7 separate regions of the Homo sapiens genome follow, and regions 1, 3, 4, 5, 6 and 7 are each linked to region 2. Evidence: promoter capture Hi-C in 16 types of primary human blood cells and fetal thymus (Javierre and others, 2016). All regions are on one chromosome and are shown on one strand. The core of a region is centred on a gene start or on the middle of the fragment in contact, and the rest is flanking DNA. Distances in the headings are between cores, read along the strand shown.

Evidence for each region. Contacts are between HindIII fragments. The CHiCAGO score rates a contact against its expected background, and 5 or more counts as called.
Region 1: the fragment with the promoter of SPRR1A here is called in contact with the fragment with the promoter of LCE2C in region 2 in 11 of 17 cell types (neutrophils, monocytes, M2 macrophages and 8 more); the score reaches 14.1 in neutrophils.
Region 3: a contact is called between the fragment with the promoter of FLG here and the fragment with the promoter of LCE2C in region 2, in 6 of 17 cell types (neutrophils, M0 macrophages, total CD4 T cells and 3 more). The highest score is 12.4, in neutrophils.
Region 4: a contact is called between the fragment with the promoter of FLG2 here and the fragment with the promoter of LCE2C in region 2, in 12 of 17 cell types (M0 macrophages, total CD4 T cells, neutrophils and 9 more). The highest score is 15.0, in M0 macrophages.
Region 5: a contact is called between the fragment with the promoter of HRNR here and the fragment with the promoter of LCE2C in region 2, in 10 of 17 cell types (neutrophils, endothelial precursors, erythroblasts and 7 more). The highest score is 9.8, in neutrophils.
Region 6: a contact is called between the fragment with the promoter of SPRR2F here and the fragment with the promoter of LCE2C in region 2, in 5 of 17 cell types (M0 macrophages, naive B cells, neutrophils and 2 more). The highest score is 11.0, in M0 macrophages.
Region 7: the fragment with the promoter of SPRR3 here is called in contact with the fragment with the promoter of LCE2C in region 2 in 8 of 17 cell types (M0 macrophages, endothelial precursors, monocytes and 5 more); the score reaches 13.2 in M0 macrophages.

What each region holds. Positions count from the first base shown.
Region 1 is chr1:152,982,631-152,985,330 of GRCh38, forward strand. SPRR1A (small proline rich protein 1A) reads left to right here and starts at 1,451. Exons shown (of 2, transcript NM_005987.4): 1 at 1,451-1,495; 2 at 2,582-2,700. The coding sequence starts at 2,601. The HindIII fragment of the contact is 3,855 bases long and covers 1-2,434 here.
Region 2 is chr1:152,673,803-152,676,610 of GRCh38, forward strand. LCE2C (late cornified envelope 2C) reads left to right here and starts at 1,477. Exons shown (of 2, transcript NM_178429.5): 1 at 1,477-1,526; 2 at 2,193-2,767. The coding sequence starts at 2,214. The coding sequence ends at 2,546. The HindIII fragment of the contact is 8,836 bases long and covers 1-2,808 here.
Region 3 is chr1:152,323,572-152,326,509 of GRCh38, forward strand. FLG (filaggrin) reads right to left here and starts at 1,668. Exons shown (of 3, transcript NM_002016.2): 1 at 1,618-1,668. All of the region lies in intron 3 of CCDST (cervical cancer associated DHX9 suppressive transcript), which reads left to right. The HindIII fragment of the contact is 6,016 bases long and covers 1,100-2,938 here.
Region 4 is chr1:152,358,675-152,361,374 of GRCh38, forward strand. It overlaps FLG2 (filaggrin 2), which reads right to left and starts at 1,332. Exons shown (of 3, transcript NM_001014342.3): 1 at 1,282-1,332; 2 at 73-232. The coding sequence starts at 210. The region is part of intron 7 of CCDST (cervical cancer associated DHX9 suppressive transcript); the gene reads left to right. The HindIII fragment of the contact is 5,522 bases long and covers 1-2,700 here.
Region 5 is chr1:152,222,612-152,225,576 of GRCh38, forward strand. It overlaps HRNR (hornerin), which reads right to left and starts at 1,582. Exons shown (of 3, transcript NM_001009931.3): 1 at 1,532-1,582; 2 at 505-667. The coding sequence starts at 642. All of the region lies in intron 1 of CCDST (cervical cancer associated DHX9 suppressive transcript), which reads left to right. The HindIII fragment of the contact is 14,241 bases long and covers 1-2,965 here.
Region 6 is chr1:153,112,256-153,114,955 of GRCh38, forward strand. SPRR2F (small proline rich protein 2F) reads right to left here and starts at 1,261. Exons shown (of 2, transcript NM_001014450.3): 1 at 1,219-1,261; 2 at 1-497. The coding sequence starts at 478. The coding sequence ends at 260. The HindIII fragment of the contact is 1,668 bases long and covers 999-2,666 here.
Region 7 is chr1:153,000,480-153,003,179 of GRCh38, forward strand. It overlaps SPRR3 (small proline rich protein 3), which reads left to right and starts at 1,270. Exons shown (of 2, transcript NM_001097589.2): 1 at 1,270-1,314; 2 at 2,523-2,700. The coding sequence starts at 2,542. The HindIII fragment of the contact is 2,627 bases long and covers 1-2,216 here.

The sequences.
Region 1 (2,700 bases), core at 201-2,700, 310 kb after region 2:
CTACAAGTGACCCAGCTCTCAGTCAGGAAGGGCTCCCCTTTCCACCTCTAATCAATTTTCTGCCTGGGCTTAATTTCCTCCATAGACATTAGGGAGTCACAAGGAATTAAAACAAAGGAGAACACAGGATTTCTGTGTAAAATTCTTTTCTTCCTAGGGTTTGTTTTTTTGACCTTGGTGAGTTATTTCACCTCTGGTGGCCTCAGATTCCCCAATCATCCCTTGAGGAGTGTGAACTAAAGGCTCTCTGAGATCCATAATCTCAGTGGCTCTCAACTGTGCTCTGTCTCTTACCCTGGGGAGTTCATGATCTGTAGAGGAAAAGTGGGCTTCCTCATCAGAGAGCTCCTAGAATGACAGGCATGATGGGCATATGTTAGGCTCCCCACTGAGATTTGTTGAATAAATGAGGAAATAAACACTGTGGTGGGGACACCGTTGCTTTAAGCAGGAACAGCTCTGACCCTCGGAAAGCCCCCAGGAGATACAGACCCAGAAGGAGGAGGAAAACCTTGCAGCCAGCAGGATCTCTAGGTATTGGGGCTGGAGCTGGCAGTGGGCAAAAGTGGAGAAGGATTCAGCATTGAGGACCCCATGGATGGGCTGCAGGGAGGCAGGTAGAAAAGGCTTTTGGGTTTTCAGGTGGGGGGCAGTCTAGCCTGATCAGAAAGGAGGAAAAGGCCAGGGCCAGATGTCTGGGTGGAGTGAAGGGAAAAAGTGATCCCAGAAGAAGGATTAGCCCCTGAAAGTCCCTGAAGTAGGAGAAGGGTAAAGGTGTGGTTGGTGAAGGAAAGCAGGTTTTCCCAGATTAGCAACCAGTCAGGGGGAGGAAGGTGAGAGTGGGAGAGTCATAAGTAAATTATTCTGAATGTGTGTAGTTTAATGGAATTGGGAAAAAGATGGGGGAAATGGATGGAAGGGTCTTGGACTCTGAGACAAGGGGTCTATAATCAGTCCATTTCATTATTTCTAGCTTCCACCTTCACCAAGGCAGACAAGGAGGGCCCACCTCAGCTCCTCTGCTCCCCCTCCCTTTCCCACCTATTCATGTGTGCAAGAGTGCCCTGTCCCACAGAACACGGGGAACAACCATCTCAATGACAAGGACAGCAGGTGGCAAGGCCTCAACAGGACTCAGATGTCCCCCCAGGGTTAACTCATGAAACCCTCCATGAAGCCTGCTGCTCACCCCTCCCTCAAGGCAAGCCCTGCACCTGGGTCTGAGGATGAGGGTGGCAGTGAAAATTAGGCCAGTGACATCATTTTCAGCCAGCCAGTGCCAAAAAATATCAGGTGGTGTTCATCAAAAAAGCTGAGCCAACCGGTGATGAGGATGGTAGTGTGAGTCATGTGTGACAGGTGAGGAATGAAAACAGAGTGCCCGAGAGCTTCTATTTCCTTGAGGCAGGGCTCATTCATCTTATAAAAGCCAGCTGGCCATTGCCTTCACACCAAACCCAAGGGACCACACAGCCCATTCTGCTCCGTATACCAGGTAAGTCTCTGATTGCAACAAACTGGCAATTCTAGTGTACTTTTTCATTATTAGAAATTAGCTAAAGGCAAATATGTGTAAGCAGGTTAATCCAGGGTTTCAATGGGAGATAGAGAATAGTGGAATATCTTTATTTTAAGTTAAATTACAGTCTGGATTTGAAAGGACCTTAGAGATGGTTAGGGCTCCCACCTCAGTAGATAGTCATTGAACTGGGAGTCCTGGAGAAGATTGTTCAAATGCCCATGGGAAGTTCATAGCAGAACTAGAACTCAGGCCCAGAGCACTCTCAGTAACACTGCAATTTCCCCCTGACAAGATATTTATAGAAATTTTAATTTATTAGATGGATCTCTACTGAGCATTTATTCCATTTAAGGCAGTATGCTAGGCACTTTGGACAAATCAATGCCTAACGTACTTACTTAACAAACATAAAACCTAGCAGGAAGGTAATACATATATATAAATAAATGAAATGCAAAGTAGATAGTAATTGGCATGACGGAGATGGGCAGAGAAGGGCTGTGCACTTTTGGGAGACCTTGCTCAAGGAGACCCTCCTAGGGGTGTCAAGTGATGTGAGCTATGATGGAGGGGTATTTGGACAAGCAGAGATGGGAAGAAAAGCATTTGGAAGGGACTGTGTAAGCACAGACCAGAAGCAAAACCATAGAGGCTTAGATGAATATAAAGCCATCCTATAAGTCACAGGCTTTCTACATGGTACTAGGAGAGGAAAGTGGTCTGATGCCATTTTCCAAAAGACCTAATATGCGGACCTCATGTCCCTCAGAAGCCAGCTTTAGTAGGGCATTTTTCCAGAACAGATATAAGTTGCCTTGGGTAGGAAGGGAGCCAAGAAGAGAACTCCAATAAAATGGAGCAGAAGAAATTGCCTTTTAGCTCCTCCTCTTCAAAGGGCCTGAAAATTATCCAAGCTTATTTCATTTTTAAATGTAATGGGGGAGTTAAGGGAGATGAAAGGCTTTCTCTTCTAAAGGGTCCTGAAATAAAATCTGTTTGGCATTGAATTTGTATCCATCTTTCTTTAATTGAATCACTGTGTCAGCTTTCTGTCTCTAGAAAAAAACACATTTGAAGCATGAATTCTCAGCAGCAGAAGCAGCCTTGCACCCCACCCCCTCAGCCTCAGCAGCAGCAGGTGAAACAACCTTGCCAGCCTCCACCCCAGGAACCATGCA
Region 2 (2,808 bases), core at 227-2,726:
CGCTAAAGCACCTGGAAGCCACTGATATTTCTCAGAGGACAGGCATAAACATAAAAGGAGATACAGGGAACAGAATCTCATCCAGGCTCTTGTTCCTCGGATGCCCTGAGTCAGCTCTTCAGGGGTCCAGCCTGGGAGAGGCTGTAACTGGCTAAAGCCTCATCCCCTTTCTATTTCCAGAGATTTGCCTACTCTACACATTTCATATAAATAACATCATACAATATGCAGTCTTTTGTGACTGGCTTCTTTCACGTAGTGTAATGTTTTCAAGGTTCACACTCAATGTATCTGTTTAAACTAAATGAATAAATGACTGGGTAACTCTGTCTAGTGCAACCCTGAATCAGAACTCTGAATAACTAGATTCCTGGCTGACCCTCTACTTCCTGGTAGGAAAGGAGTTCCCTCTGCATAGGAGCCCCAAGAAATGATGTCTACTTCCCAAGACAGGTTTCAAATAATCTAAGTGTCTGGTGGAGTTAAGCTCTCTGAGGGTAAGGGCTCTATATGGGCAATTAATGACACATAAGACCGGGGCAAGTATCCAATACATGGCATTAGTTTTTCTATTAAACATATATTTATTAAGGGTCTATCAGGCACAAAATGTCATACTTAGCTCTTTCTTGCTTCTCACTTTATATTACAAACAGCTCAGTGAGATAGGTATATCTCACTGATAGGTTTATAATGGGCATTATATGTGAGAACTGATACTCACAGTGAGTATCATAGTAATACTCTAGCAATTATTGATAATTGTTACAGCAACTTTCAGAGATTACCCAGTTATCATATGCAAGTTTTCTGATTCCAGTAGCACATTCAATACAAGTCCTCTGACTGAAGGAAATGTTTAGATTTTAGAGGGAATTGTTTATTCTCAATCATTCTCCTTGCTTTAGGTGACAGAATCAACTCAGATTTAATCCACCGAATCTGCTTGCCATGGTGAGTCGGAGGAAAAGCAGAAACACAGAGGCCAGGAGGAAGGGCTGAGAGCCTAGGCAAGGGAGGGATGCCTAGAAAAAGCCAAGGCTGTAGAAGCCCTCTGGGATGGCTGGATCCACAGCAGGACATGGAAGAGAAACTGCTCAGGGTGGAGGGAGTCATAATGGAACATTTCCACAAGGTCAGGGAAAGCTGTGGCTCAGAACTGATGTTTCCTCAGAGGACATGCATTAAAAAAATGCAGGGAACAGAATCTTGTCCAGGTGTGGGTCCCTTGGGTACCCTAAGTTAACTCTTTAGGGTTCCCACCTGGTGGAGGCTCTGACTGGCTACAGCCTCTCTAGACTGCAGCCCCAGAGAGGAGTCCTGGAAGCTCCTGAGGCCTCTTTGGATTGCAGGGACTAAGAGGCAGGAGAATGTCAGGAATGACCCAGCGTGTGCCTGGTTGTGCAAGAGCCACCTCCTGCTCTTTCCAGAGCCAAGCCTGGGCCCTATAAAAGACACATCCAGCTTCAGCATCTCATCTGCTCTGACTCCCCAGGGACGTGTCTGTGCTCCTGCGTGTGACCAGGGTGAGTGGCAACCTGGGATACCAGAGGGGTATGAGCAAGGCAGAGGGATGGGGAGGATGGAGGTAGGCTGGAGAAAGAGTTGTGTGCTTGTGTTCTGCCATACTGAGCAGGAATGGGACTCAGCCTGCCTCGAATCTGTTGAGGCTCTGAGGCCTACCGGAGCTCATATAGGTGGGGAAAGCTAACTGTGCACATCTTTTCCAATTCTGTGTTCAGTGACTTCATGTTGGTAACTTCAAAACTGCTGTGTTGGGCATATTTACACCATGGAAACTGGCAAATACTTCAAGCCAGGCTCTTTTATCTGGAGGTTTCATTGCAAAATATTTTCCAGAGGACCCCTTGGTATGTCCTGCAACACCCAGCTTGTCCTTAGGGCTTGTATTAAAGGAATAGGTACTTCAGGGAGCTGTGAATACTCTATTCGGGCTTGTGAGGATAGAGCAATCGCAGTTTCCCCTGAAAGGAAGAGTAAGAAGCTCATTCTGTTGATTTTTTATCTACGTACTTTTATCTAGAGGAAAGATTCAAGTTGTTTCTTTCAGGTTACTGATGTGATTGTATTATCTAAATATCATTCTTCTTCTACACATGCATTGATTTTAGAAGAGGTATAATATGATCCTTGGTTTGAAATATTTAAAGAGTTTCATTATTATCTTTCAGGTTGACTAAACTCCTGCCAGCATGTCTTGCCAGCAAAACCAGCAGCAGTGCCAGCCCCCTCCCAAGTGTCCTCCCAAGTGTACCCCAAAATGTCCACCTAAGTGTCCCCCCAAATGCCCACCACAGTGCCCAGCTCCATGTTTCCCTGCAGTCTCTTCTTGCTGTGGTCCCAGCTCTGGGAGCTGCTGTGGTCCCAGCTCTGGGGGCTGCTGCAGCTCTGGGGCTGGTGGCTGCTCCCTGAGCCACCACAGGCCCCGTCTCTTCCACCGGCGCCGGCACCAGAGCCCCGACTGCTGTGAGAGTGAACCTTCTGGGGGCTCTGGCTGCTGCCACAGCTCTGGGGGCTGCTGCTGACCTGGGCTACAGAAGAGCTCTTGGGACTGAATGGCCAAGAACCTGCTACGGCCTGATGGATACTCTTTCCACTTCCTCTCATTCCATTCATTGGTTGGCAGAGACCACAAAGACTCATGGGGCTTTCCTGGAAGAACTTCGTGCTTGATGTAACACCCCAATTGCAAGTCTTCTTTTCCTCCTTTACCTCATGTTATAATAAAGCTCTGATCTCTGACTCACTAAATGTCTTGGTCATTCTCTTCTCTTCTGAGATTTCAAA
Region 3 (2,938 bases), core at 418-2,917, 350 kb before region 2:
AAATAACGTGTGAGACCTCAATACACCCACCAAAGTGACTAAAAAGATAAGAAAGAAAAAAATCCTTGACAATACCAAATATTGGTGAGAATGTGGAGAATTGAGATTTTTTTTTTTTTTATGTACTGCTGGAGGCACATAAAGTGACAGAAGCACTTTGGAAAATTGTTTGACAGTATCTAAGTCCTAGCGATTTACTCTTAGGAATATTCCCAACTGAAATATGTACATATGTGTAACCAAAAGTAGTACACAAAAAAGTGCATAGCCCTATTATTTATAATACCCCCCAAAATGGAAGAGACCCAAGTATCTACCCATAGACAAATGGATGAATAAATTGTTATATTTTCAGATAACATAATAGTCAGTGTTGGGAGATGAAGGTAGACTGGACTAGGATGATAATGGCAGAGAGGGGGATAAATGGATAGATTTGGCAGGTTTGTAGGCAGAGTTGACTGGACGTGGTGATGAATCAGTGTGATGAGAAAACAGGAATCATGGATAACTTCTAGATTTTGGTATGAGCAAACAGTTATTTCTCGTTATTTCTATTATTTCCATCATCTTTCACATAAAAGAATGCAGTCTCTCCCTGCTCCTGCTCTTGCCTTCCTATATTCCTGTTTTCCACGTAGCAGCCCAGAGTGGTCTTTTAAAAACATAGATTATCTTACTCCTCCTGCTTAATACCCCTTTAAGTACATGCTAAAATCTAACATGTACTGTTTTAATTCTACTGTGCCCCTCTTTACATGAGCTACGCTGTCTAGCTCTCTGACATCACCATATACCACTGGTCCTCTTTTTAACTATGTATGCTCTAAGGCACACTAGCTTCTTTTTGCTCTTTGGGACAAGTTTACTCTTGCTTAGAATCTTGCCCTTTGCCTTGGCTAGTTTCTTTTGTGTTTAAGATCTCAACTCAAAGATAATTCCCTAGAGAGGTCTTCCCCTGGCCATCTAATTTAAAGCACTTTCCTCCTCCCTCCCATCACTTTACTACAAGCTTGTCCAATCTGTGGCCCAGGACAGCTTTGAATGTGGCCCAACACAAATTTGTAAACTTTCTTAAAACATTACGAGTTTTTTTTTAAGCTTATCAGCTATTATTAGTGTCAGTGTGTTTTATGTGTGGCCCAAGACAATTCTTTTTCCATTATGACCCAGGGAAGCCAAAAGACGGGACACCCCTGCTCTACTACATCACTCTTTTATTTTCTTCATTGTTCTTATCACTATTTAAAATTATCTTATTTGTTTATTGTTGTTTACTAAATGTTTCCCCCTATTAAAGGTAAGCTGCTAGGAGTTTATATAGTTCACTGCTGCATAGATAGAGCCAAGACCAAGTAGAAGGTAGTTAATACATATTTGTTAAGTAAATGAATAAATGGACAATCTAACAATACAGAGTATTGAGTAGCTCCATGGAAAGCAAATTTATGCCCTCATTTTCCTTCTATATAGAAATAAACCTTTTAGTGACAGTGCCACTAAAAAGAAAGAGAAAAACCCTAAACTTCCAGAACCTTTTGCCTTACAGTACACATACATTCAGATTTCCACCTTGGTTAATAGTAAGTAGACAAAATTAAATGTATTCCTTCTTACCTTGTTCACCAAAAGAGCAAATAGAATGTAGCCTGAAGGAGCCTGCTGGGTACTGAAGGCTGAGATAATGGCCCTTTTATAGCAGGCCCCATGCAGGGAGGAGCCACCCTCTGTGGGATGGTCTGATTCATTCCTAACCAAACCTAGATCCACCCATATCTCCACCTCTATTTCTCCAGCAACCTGTGTTTACTTCCCAGCTTCCTCACGTACTCATCTGTACTTGTTTCAGCAAGTTCCAAATTTGGGTTTACATATTGGAAATTTTATGGAAGGGTCCCTTTGGCTAATACAGGTTGTTTGTGTGCAGGGCCCATACCTACTTTTCTGTAACCCCACTTTGGCTTGACAGGTGCTTGGTAAATATCTATTGATAAATACACTTCCTGATCCTTGTCTCTAGAAGAGTAGGACATATTAATACGTTTATAAGAACTTGAAATTCAATTTATGATAGGAAAACATCACAAGCATCTACATATATGTTCTTTTTTAATCTATGTATTCCATCTTTGGGTACTGAAGAACTTGCCATGAGATGAATGCCGTCTTCTAGAAATTATGGTCAGTAGAGGATAGGCAAATTTAATTTTAATTTTTCAAAGCAGAGCAAGAATGTGAACAATTGAACTAGAAGTGGTGATCACTAGGAGCATGAGTTTAATTAGGCAAGACTCATTAGTGTAATTTTACTTTGTTTTCAAGGTTATTACATCGTGGCATCAGAGACATGTTCCACATACTCTTCCTTCTTAAACCATGAATTTTCTTTTATTGCCATAAATATACAGGGGACTCCTATCCCTGGTCTGTCTTATGATATACACACTGTTATGTTGAGCAGATTGCATCTCCATATGGATGTCCCATGGTTATCTCAATCCATAGTGTTGAAAACTGAACTTACATTGTGCCTCCTACCAAAATGTACTATCCTCCAGAAGCCCATATATTGGTAATGATGCCCCCACACACTGGGTGTCTCAAGCTAGACAAAGTCATTTTCATTTCTCCTTTTCCTTAACCCCTCATGCTCATGTCACATCGTATCAATTATACTCAGGCTTAGATTTTGTTATGTAGGCCTATTCTCTACCTCCAGTGCTATAATTTTAGTTCTGGACCTGACCATCTTTCAATTGGGTATTGGTAAAGAAAAAAAAGTGTCGTAACTAGCCTCTCTCTCTACTATTAAGCTGGCTTACCATCTTATGTCATTCGCTGTGCTGGTTTCTTCTTGCCTGCAGAATTTCAGACTTTTTTACCTGACGTACAAGCCCCTTTACAATAGGCATGAATCTGTATCTTTTCAATTGTCCCT
Region 4 (2,700 bases), core at 82-2,581, 320 kb before region 2:
AGCTGATCTGGGTCATACAACAGAGCTTGTACAGGACTCCAGCAGCCTTCAGTTCTGGCACATGGCTCTCACCTTCAGAACTGGATGAAGCTCTTTCTCCAGAAGTTCCTTTAGTTCACCCTTGCTCAGTGTGCCACACTCCCCATCTTGCTTGGTGTATTTGTAGAAAACATCAATTACGGTGACAACACTTCTCAAGAGGTCGGTCATCTTTTTGCAAGTTTAAGTGAACCTGGACACAGAAAAACAAAGAACCCTATTATTCATATTCTCTCCTTTTATCAGCAATTTTCATTTTAATAATAACCAGCATGATTTTTTTAACCTCTTGTTTTTTAAATCTCAAAACGTAAGAATGGGCCAGGGATGATACAACCCCGTTTAACACAATGAAAATTAACTTTGTTAACTTTGAGTTACTTTTCTGTGATCAAGTCTTGGCATGTTACTGGTTCAACTGAGAATAGACCTCAAGTCTCTATATTTCCTGTCATGGGTAAGTATAGTCTCTACATAGTATCTCTACACTTTGAGTGTGTTGGCATTCTGGGTGTTGTTCTAAGGCTTCCAAAATTTCCAGAACCAGCCAGACACCATTGCCTCAATCTCTCTTTCTAGTTTCACTGCTTTTCTTGAGTCAAAAGTGACAGACCTTCCACCATGCACATCTGTTTATCCTCTGGGCACCAGAAGCTAAACTGGACCCTTAAGGCCTTCAGCAAATTAAAAATGGGCAAAGGGGCTCAAAATAGCTTGGTGTTTCATAGGCATGAGACAGTAGAACTCAGTAGAGCTTAGGAACTCTCTTAATGTCAAGCACTTGACCAAACACTGTTTTCTTTAATTAATCAAGAAGAAGAGCTCAGCAATGCAGGCAGCAGTTTAACTAGTGGATAATTAGATCTTGGAGCTCTGGGAACCAACACTGAATAAGGAAGGGACTCTGCAACAGACCCAGCTGCCTCCCAGTTTGAGCTGGACAGCCCAGAAAAGAGGGCATGGAAAAAGACTCGGAACAGACTGTGGAATGGCCTAGAGGAAGGTGAACTTTTACTTGCATTATTCTTCTCCATAAAAATGAACTTAACTACAAAAAGGCCCCAGAATAAACTAAACTAACCAAACAAATAAGCAAACAAAAAGAAAAGAAAATGAAAGAAAGAAACAAAAAAGAAAAGAAAGGCAAAATATACATGAACTCTGCCTTAGCTTATATCCCTAGACTTCTACTATGGACAACACCAAATATTCATAAATGTAGCTGGATGAATTTTCTCTCACCTGGTTCACCAAAGGAACAAGTAGGATAAAGCCTGATGCAGCTTGCAGGGTGACGATGGATTGGGATAATGACCCTTATATAGCTTATAGTGATTATAGTGAATGAGGTGATTCATTTTCCATCAAACCTAACTCCACCTCTACATATTTACCTTCCTCCTTCACATTGTTATCTACAGATGATTGCAGAAAGGCTAGTACCAGCCCCACCTTCCAGTACGAGGACATGGTTGCAAGATACCTTTTTTTTCAGGGTCATATACATGTGAAAAGCACAGACTTTGTTTTAGAGGACTCATGTTATACATTTCTTTTAACTAGTACCCACAGAAAGTAGCAGAGTGTAAGATACTTGGAAGGTGCACAATAAATGCTTATTTAATTGAAAATGAACCTGAGCCACTAGGTTCATCTAATTCATGTCTTTTTTGTAATAATAAAAAGTGACATTTATTGAGAATTTACTATGTGCTAAATACTTTAAACAAACCATCTCAATCTTTAAAAAATCTGCACTTTTAGTTATGGGTACATAGTTGTATATAATTGTTGGGTACATGTGATGTTTTGATATGGGCATACCATGTGTAATGATCAAATTACAGTAATTGGGGTATCCAGCACCTCAAGCATTTCTTTGTAGTAGGAACATTCTAATTCTACTATTTTAGTTATTTAAAAATATACAATAAATAGTTAACTATAGTTACCATATTATGTTACCAAATACTAGATCTTATCACCTCATTTAATCTTCACAACCTTCATACGAGATATGTATTTATTATCCCATTTTATAGAGACAGGTTCTGGAAGCATAAGGATCTTCTCCAAGGTCATAGCTAGTAGGCAGAGAAACCAGAAGTTGAACCTGTATCTACCTTATTGCAATTGCTGTTTACCATTATACTAACTTACCTCTGTGTATTTATCATATATAACTATCATGCAAAAATTATGCACCATTTTAGGAGTGTAAGGCCCACTCAAACGCAAATAATATAAAAAAGTAACATACAGAGTGCTGTTAGGAAGAGAGGAAACATTCTCTGACCTTGTGAAGGCTCATTTCTAGGCTAGAAAAGTGTAATTGGCTATATATAAAAATAATGTTTTCAGATATGTTCAGGGTGAATTTAGAGTGAGCTTTCTTCCAGCACTCTGCGATCCACTGGTAGTCTGGCATGTTTAGGGCCTGGACCCTTGGGAAAATGTTCACTTATGTACAGAAAGTATATCAAATACACTTGAGGGTAACAAAAATAATCAGAGAGCTGTAAGTCTTAAGCATGGAGAGCCAATTCTGCTGTACTTTGCTACCAGGTGATAATGATGATGATGAGGAGGATAGCAGCTACCATTAAGTGCTAAGTGCTTACTATCTTCTATACATGGTAGGTTTACATGCTTATCTATTTA
Region 5 (2,965 bases), core at 332-2,831, 450 kb before region 2:
GATTCATAGCTGACACACTGAATATCTGACATCTGATATCTGAATATCATATCTGAAATCCACAGAAATCCAAATTTAAGGAATTGAAACTCAGGAGTCTGATATAAGGTCCCAAATATCTAAGCTATCAAATCTAGACCTGACAGTTTTAAGGTGGTGGACACATTCTTTTGTGATTCAGGAGTAAATGCCAATTTCCTGAACTCAGAAATCTACTTCACAGTTTTTCTGAGGACTGTCTGGGTTTGTAGGAATTAGTCACTTAGATAGGACATTATTTAACCTGTGGGTTTTGTTTGTTGTTTAGTAAGGTCACTTCCGTTAGTTATGCTATGGAAACCATCACGGATCTGCTTTTGACCTTATCTCAAACTTTTACCAAACCCTGTTCTCTCTCACCAAGTAAGGACAATCCTCTAGGATGTTTGACATATGTGACAAGAAGGTGGAAAGGGATAAAGAAGAAAATTCCTGCATAACTCCATCCTGGCGTGGAGTTCTTACCTTCAGAATTTGATGAAACTCATTTTCCAGAAGTTCTTTCAGCTCTGCCTTGTTCAACGTATCATACTCCCCATGCTGGGTGGCATATTGGTAGAAAACATCGATGACAGTGATGACGCCTTGTAGGAGTTTAGGCATTTTTTTTTTTGCAAGTTTGAGTAACCTAAAGGGAGGAAAAAGAGAGACCAACCCCTTACTATTCTTATTTCTTGTTTAAACACATAAATAGTTCTAATTATTTATAATAATTGTTCAGAATTAGTCAGTCATGATTAAATTCATTCTGTTGTAATCAAGAACCAATTCAGAGTTGAATGACTTGTTCAAGCCATGTAGCAAGAGAGTGATGAAATTAGGAATATAATCCATAGGTCTTATTTCCATTCCTGAATGAATGTAGGAAAAATGACTTTCTGTTTTTGGCTTCCTGCCATTACCAGGGATAATATTAGCTTTGTTCTGGAGCTGTAGAAGTCCTGAGTGTTCCACTTCATCTGCTTCCTCTTTCTAGGTTCGAAGCATACTGTGGGCATAGGTCCATCATCTACATGACATGCCTTACTCAACCTAAGGAGCATCAATGGCTGAACTGAACTCTCAAGACTTCTAGGTCAGAGAAAATAGACAATGTGAGCAAAGCCAACAAGCCTAGGTGATATGAAGCTAAGGGTAACTGCTATTAGATCCAGCTTCTGTTCTCATTCTCCAAGCAGGAAGTGACCCTCAGACCTTATTACACAATAGAGAGGAAAAGCTCAGTTGTAAAGAAGGCAACCTGCCTGTGGATAATTAGAACCCCATGATATCCATGTTATAAGGGAAGCGACCTCAAAGAAAGGAGATAATATACATAGTCCTAGTCTTTGTTTCATTTTTCTTTTCAGTAAATTTAAACTTATACCAAAGTTCCCCAGAGTATACTAAAAAGAAGCCTTGTATCTAGTGCCTCTTTGCCTTAGAGCACATCCTGGACTTTCATAATTTATAGCCCTAAGTACCCTTGAGCGGAGTTGAACTGCTCACTTACCTAGCTCACCAGAGGAACAAGTAGGGTAGAGACAGAAACAGCTTTCAGGGTGCTGCGAGTTGGGCAGAGTGGCCTTTTTATAGAGGGAATAATGGTCCCTCTTAGGGAGGAGTTGCTAATTTTGAGATGTCCTAATTTACTCCTAAACAAGCCCATCTCCACCTCTATCTCCACCTCCCAGGTGTTTACCTTCTTCCTGACTTCCTTACAGGTTCACCTAAGATTGCATTAGCAGTTCCCAAATCTGGGCTACTCTCAGCCCCACCTGCCAAAGGGTCAGGACACTGCAGAAAGGCCTGTTTTTGTATTCATCAAACTATCTAGCACAATATATTGACAACAAATTGTGTGGATTTTAATAGAAGTTGAATGGAGTGTGTGCAGGGACATCATGGCCCAAATGTCAAAAAATCATGGAAATTGATGATTAAAAGGACTGTAAAGATCATCTAGTCAAACTCTCCCATTCTAAGCTAAATGTTCTTAAATGGTATTCCAGCCAAAGTGTCATCTTTGGTATTGTTATTACCTTTTGAATTGGATAATGGCTCCAGGCCATCCTTTAACTCATTAAGTACCTCAATTTACCAGACCCCTTATTGGCCATTCATCACCATAGCTTTCATTTCAAACACCATATAACCTTAGGAAGAAATGCGTGCTTGTTAGCATGGTATCCATGGTTCCTCATGATCTGGGCTGTGGCTTTTTTCCAGCTCCATTTCTCCCCTCCATATTTCTCTTTGTACTCCAACAGTAATTAACTAGTAATATTTCAAACTTCCTCAATATACCATGGGATATGTTATTTCATATTTTTTCTTAGAATGTCTTTCCTCATTGTCTGCCTAGTGAACTAATTATTCTTCAAAATCCAATTTAGGCTTCCCATAGAAAATCTTTCCTGAATTACTCAAGAGGGAGTTGTAATTGTGTACCTTATTCATATTTATTGTTGTATCAATCATACTATATTGTAATCTTTAAAAATTGTTTTACTATACAATTATTGTTTAATATAAAAATTAGAAAATATTGATAAGCAAATAAGATAAAATCAAAATACCTTTAAAGCCACTAGCCAAAAATAACTACTGTTAGTTATTTGTTGTATATCCTTGCCTTTCACAAACACACACATTCACACACAGACACACACATTTGTCTATGGGCTTATTTCATTTCTAGGCTATGAGCTCCTTGAGAATAAGGAATGGACATTATTTATCCTTATGTCATTTGGAGACCTAGTATACTGCTTGTCACATAACGGTCTCCAATAAATGTCAGTTTGAATTCATTTGAAAGAGAAGCAAGGATCAAGACTATAGTCCTCTGCATTGGCCAACTTCCATCTTTTCACAGGAGGACTAGGGTCTGCCCTCTCTCTTGCCATCTTTGCCTCAGAGGACATGATTTTACCTGAATATAAAC
Region 6 (2,700 bases), core at 11-2,510, 440 kb after region 2:
CTCTTTCTTCTGAAGCTCTGGGAGCTGGCACAGCCCAGGACTTCCTTTGCTCAGTCTCCACCTGGACAGTGGCAGTATGGCAGCCTCAAAAAGAAAACCTTTTGCTATCAGAGATCATCACAGGCCGATCACAGGCTAAGAGGAAAGAAGCTCCCTGTGTATCCCTGGATGGCTTTGATGAGAAGATGCAGGTGGAGCTGTGGAACGAGGTGAGCCAATTATCCTTATCCTTTCATGCTCCTGATGAATCCTGAAGCTGTTACTTGCTCTTGGGTGGACACTTTGGCTGGCAGGGTGGGGAAGGTGTCACAGGAGGACATTTCTGCTGGCACTGCTGAGGTGGGCAGGACTGTGGACACTTTGATGGTGGGCAGGGCTCAGGGCACTTCGGGGGTGGACATGGCTCTGGGCACTTTGGCGCGGGGCACACAGGAGGTGGCTGGCAGGGCTGCTTGCACTGCTGCTGTTGATAAGACATCCTGCTGGAGTCTCAGAATCTGAAAGAAATTATATGACAGTGTTCACGGGAAGGGAATCCTCCAGAGAGAGAAGCCAAAGCTTATGTAATACCATGGCATATTATTTCTCCAATCTCCAAGAAATTATTTAAACTCTTAATTCCCTTTTCAAGAGTCCCTGGCTTCTCACTTCCACTTCAGCGAATTACTTCATTGTCCCTGGGAACTCTTGTGTTTTCTCATATAATTTTTCCAAAGAAAATATCTCTGTAGTAAACAACCAAGCATGTTATTTCTATGAAAATAACATCTTCAAGAAAGGCAGTCACAAGTTCAGATACCCAGGGCTATCTCACAAGCTATTCCTGTTATCATTATCTGTTGTAAAATCCCAGTGGGTTGACATAGGCACACAGAAAACGACTGTTTGGGAAGAATTGCATGCTCTCACACCTGCTACGACATAAACCTTTGAAAAGGACACCAGAAAAGCAGAGAAAAAAAGAAAAATACTTTGTTATTTTTTCTTCTTCAAATCAAAGCTTTCCCCTTAACTAACTTCTCTGTCCATATGAACACCTAACTCTGTACTAAAAGAAAGCTAAAATAGCATATCATTGTGCTCTAATCCTAAATTTCCATCCACTAAGTAGCATCAAATCAACATTCATAGGATTGGATCAACCAAACTTGCTGTATTCAGATTAAATTCAACATTTCAGGGCACAAAGAACAGAGGAACTCCAGGAAGCCGACTCACCAGGTTCTCCAAGGCAGATCGGTGCTTAGGTACCAGGAGTTTAGGAGTCGTGCAGCAGAAAACCTCTTTATAGGGCCTGCTACCCCTCCCAGCAGAAAGTGTAACTGCCAAAAGCTACACTTATCCAGTAATTTCTTAAGCCAAATGCAAATTTATCCACAACTGGCCTGACAGTGATTATCAAACTAGGAAATATCCTGTTCTGGGATCTCCCCACTGGGTTAAGTGCTCCTGACTCACAGAGGCCCTGCCTTAGATCTCAGTTTCAGTGACCTATGGCAAAGAGGGACTTGGGGGATTCTCTAACTGGTGGTCAAGGGCTCTCTTTTTTGACTGGGGGCAATGATCCTTTCCTGTCTTACACCTTCCCTAAATCATAAAACTTCCTGTCCTGATCCACTTTACTGAATGCCATATTGTTGTACATGAACCCATCTCCACCTCTACTTTCCTTGTACAATTTGCCAATGCGCTAAAAGGAAGGAGAGACCTAACAAAGGCCTGGGTTCTGGTCCCAGATTTTTTTTTTTTTTTTTTTTTTTTTTTTTTGTTGCTAAGTTGTGTGACCACAGGCAGGTCACCTCTCCTCCCTGTGATTATAAGCAGGGGAGAATCATACTTACCTCTGGAGATGGGAGCTGACCGCATTGTGCCATCTGCTGACCCTGTTCAAGCCAGAAACTTTCTCCTCCACTTCTATCTTTCTCTCTCATAGAACCCTGGATTTTACGATTTTCCTTTCCTCTTTGAAGCTGTCTTCTCCACCCAATTTGTACAGGCAATTGTCACCTGGGACAGATTCCAGAGTGACAGCCAGTCTCCCCAGCACATTTGCTACTTGCTGCCATTAAGGATGTATACTAGCGCCTTTTTATTTATAAAAATGTATTCTTTGCTACCACATTAAGGAAACGGAGAGACATGAAACAAAATTACAAGCATTCATTCAAAATCTATGTATTGAACCATGCCTATATGATTCCCTGAAACCACCCTATAGAGCACAATCTGCATAGACTCACATTATCATATGTGAATAATTAGAAGTAGGTTTGCAGAGTGGAGATGGTCAGCGCACCTAAAGTCTGAAATCTGGGGGAAAATACAAATTAAGTATAATCTAATATGTATTCTTCCCCTCTGTTTCTAAACAGGTTTTAGGTGTTTCTCAGTGTTTTTTAATTTGTTTGCATGTTCTTTCTCTGTCTTTTCCATAAGCCCCCTAGTCTCATGACCTGCTAGATTATCAAGTCACACCCCAATGTACACCTCTCATCTATTCATTTTGGTACATATTGTTCACTCAACATATATATTGTCAATGCATATAGTGACTCCTCTTTCATATCTTTTGTAAACTCTTCCAGCAATTAGTGAGGCTTACTAAACATGGTATATTAAATATTTAAGTTGATGTTGCTAGAGCTTCCTTAGACCAGTAGTCAGAAAGCTTTCCAAGAATGTGGTTTATAGTTGGAGAAG
Region 7 (2,700 bases), core at 20-2,519, 330 kb after region 2:
CTTCATGAATTATCAGCTCACACCTCTTCTCAGCTCACACCAGGAGGCCTGGCACAGGACAGTGAATCATGCCCAAGAAACTGCCTTGTGGCTTCCTGCCTTCCTCCCTCCCTCCCTATCTTTCCTCTTTTCTTTTCTCTTTTCTTTTCTTTTCCTTTCCTTCCCCTCCCCTTCCTTTCTTCCTTCCTTTCTTTCTTTCTTTCCTTCTCTCTCTCTCTCTTTCTTTCTTTCTTTCCTTTCTTCTTTATCTATCTCTGTTTCTTTCTCACTTCCTTTCTCCCTTCCATGAACCTACAGCTCTATTCAGGAGAACAATGACTGTCCATTGACTTAACACCCATGATAACCAGGCACTGTGTGACGCTGAAGTAGAACAAGGGGCTTTCAGAACCTGGTGGAAGGAGCTGGGCATCAGGTTCAAGGGAGTAACACAGTCGTGGAACATTGGGAAAGGAGGAGCTATTCACATGCCTGAGATGTAAGGATGTCTGGATTTTCCAAGGGCCGCGTCTAGTAAGAGAGTGTGTATTGAGGGCAACTCTGAGTTAGTGACTTGAGGTTCATCCTGTAGTGATCAGAGGAAATGGCTGGTGTATGAACCTAGGGAATCAGCACGCTCCTCTTCCTATGTCACTCCTGGAGAAGAAAGATACCACAAGAGGCAGGGTCTTCAGGGCTGAGCCACAATGTCACACAGATCCAGTCAATCCTGCCTGTCCATCTCAATGACATCTACTATCCCTGATCAACACGGCACCTTAAGGCGCCCTTCACAGTGAAAGCAACTTATTTCCAAAGCAGGCATTTTGCCTTCCATTGCTCCTCCCAGGTCCAAATCCAGTAAGAGACTGAAAATCAGATGATTCACTTATTCTGCACCATCCCCATGGCCTCGCAGAACCAGAAATGCCTATTGTTATTTCCATGTCCACTTCAACCATGAGGAAGCCCAATAGGACTAATCTGGCTAAAGATTAGGGCCCAGGCCAAGAGGCCTGGCTCGTTCTAGTCCTAGGAGCATGGTACTTCCTCCTAATTTAATCCATTGCCATTCAAGAAGACCTTTGCCCACAGCAACCACACCACAAAGGGTGGACAGTGAGTCAGGCCCAGGTGACATCACTGTCAGAGCTTAAGTGACAAAAAATGTTAAGCCAGAGATACTTATCACAAAAGCTGGAATGAAGTTAGAGCAGTCTTTTAAAAAATCCAATTTTCTTAAGGCAGGGCTCATTTTCTATATAAATACCAGCTAACAAGAGACTCTTCACCAGATCCCAGAGGCTGAACACCTCGACCTTCTCTGCACAGCAGGTGAGTCTCCGCATTAGGAACACCTTAATATTCTCCAATAGTTTCTTTATTTTGATTGAGATCTCTTTGCTATGCAATGAATATATTTATTTTAAATGCAATAACGACTTTTGTTTAAGGTGACCTTATACATATTTTGACTTTCCACTCAGATTACAGGTGTGGAACTTAGGATCAGAAAAGGGGAGTGATTTCTGTAAAGGCTTGCTAAGTTAGCAAGACAATATACCCACTTCAAGAGCACTCTCCTGTCAACATGTATTGAAAATTTTTAATATAGAAGGCACTACATTGGCAATTTTGATGATCAAAAGATAAGTTTTTCTTTATTGCATGAATGTATAATCCATTAGAAAACATATACTTGACTAAAATTTGCAAACATACAGCATGGGGAGTGATTAGCAGAGAGGGAAAGCAAGTATCATGCTGTGGCAAAACGAGGAAGGTGAGAGCATCAGGAAGGACAGCCATGAGAGGTGGGCATGTGTGGGGAGGCAGCGATGATGTGGAGAGCCTGCCAGAGAGCATGTGCAGCAGGCACAGTGTGAACAGAGGCTCCCAGGTGGATTGTGGGAGCCTTAGGGGGAAGTTTAGATAAGAGTTCTCCTGGGAGAACTATCGCACTCTATAAGGAGGACATGAGTGAGTAGATTCTAGACTGCTGACCTTAAAATCTTTCCAACTTATGGAAAAACTGAGGTGTCACATCAATCTTCAGCCAATGACACACAGCCAAGAGTGGTATTAAAAGTGATTTAATCAGGGAAGAGCAAGAAACATGCATTTCTTTTCACTCAATTCCTCAGATGATCCCTGAGCAGCTGAAGACCAGAAAAGCCACTAAGACTTTCTGCTTAATTCAGGAGCTTAGAGGATTCTTCAAAGAGTGTGTAAGCGAAAGCTTCAGAGTATATATTTGCATATTTGTATGTGTTTTCATGTTGTACGTAGGTTTTTAGATGTACCAGGAAGAAAAGAAGCATAAAGAAAGGCTCCATTTACACGATGTGGAAGAAATCAACTTTACCTTATTCTCTGGAAGATAAGTGGGGATCACCAAAGCATCCCATGATCTCAAATTCAGGGAAAAAGAAAGAAAAGAGAGGCTCTCAGTTCTGAAGGAGAATGAAATGACAGATATTTGTCATTAAACTGGGCTTCATTCCTACTTAATCAAAGCACTGAATTAGCTGTTTTGTCTCTAGGTCCAGCATCCTTTGAAGCATGAGTTCTTACCAGCAGAAGCAGACCTTTACCCCACCACCTCAGCTTCAACAGCAGCAGGTGAAACAACCCAGCCAGCCTCCACCTCAGGAAATATTTGTTCCCACAACCAAGGAGCCATGCCACTCAAAGGTTCCACAACCTGGAAACACAAAGATT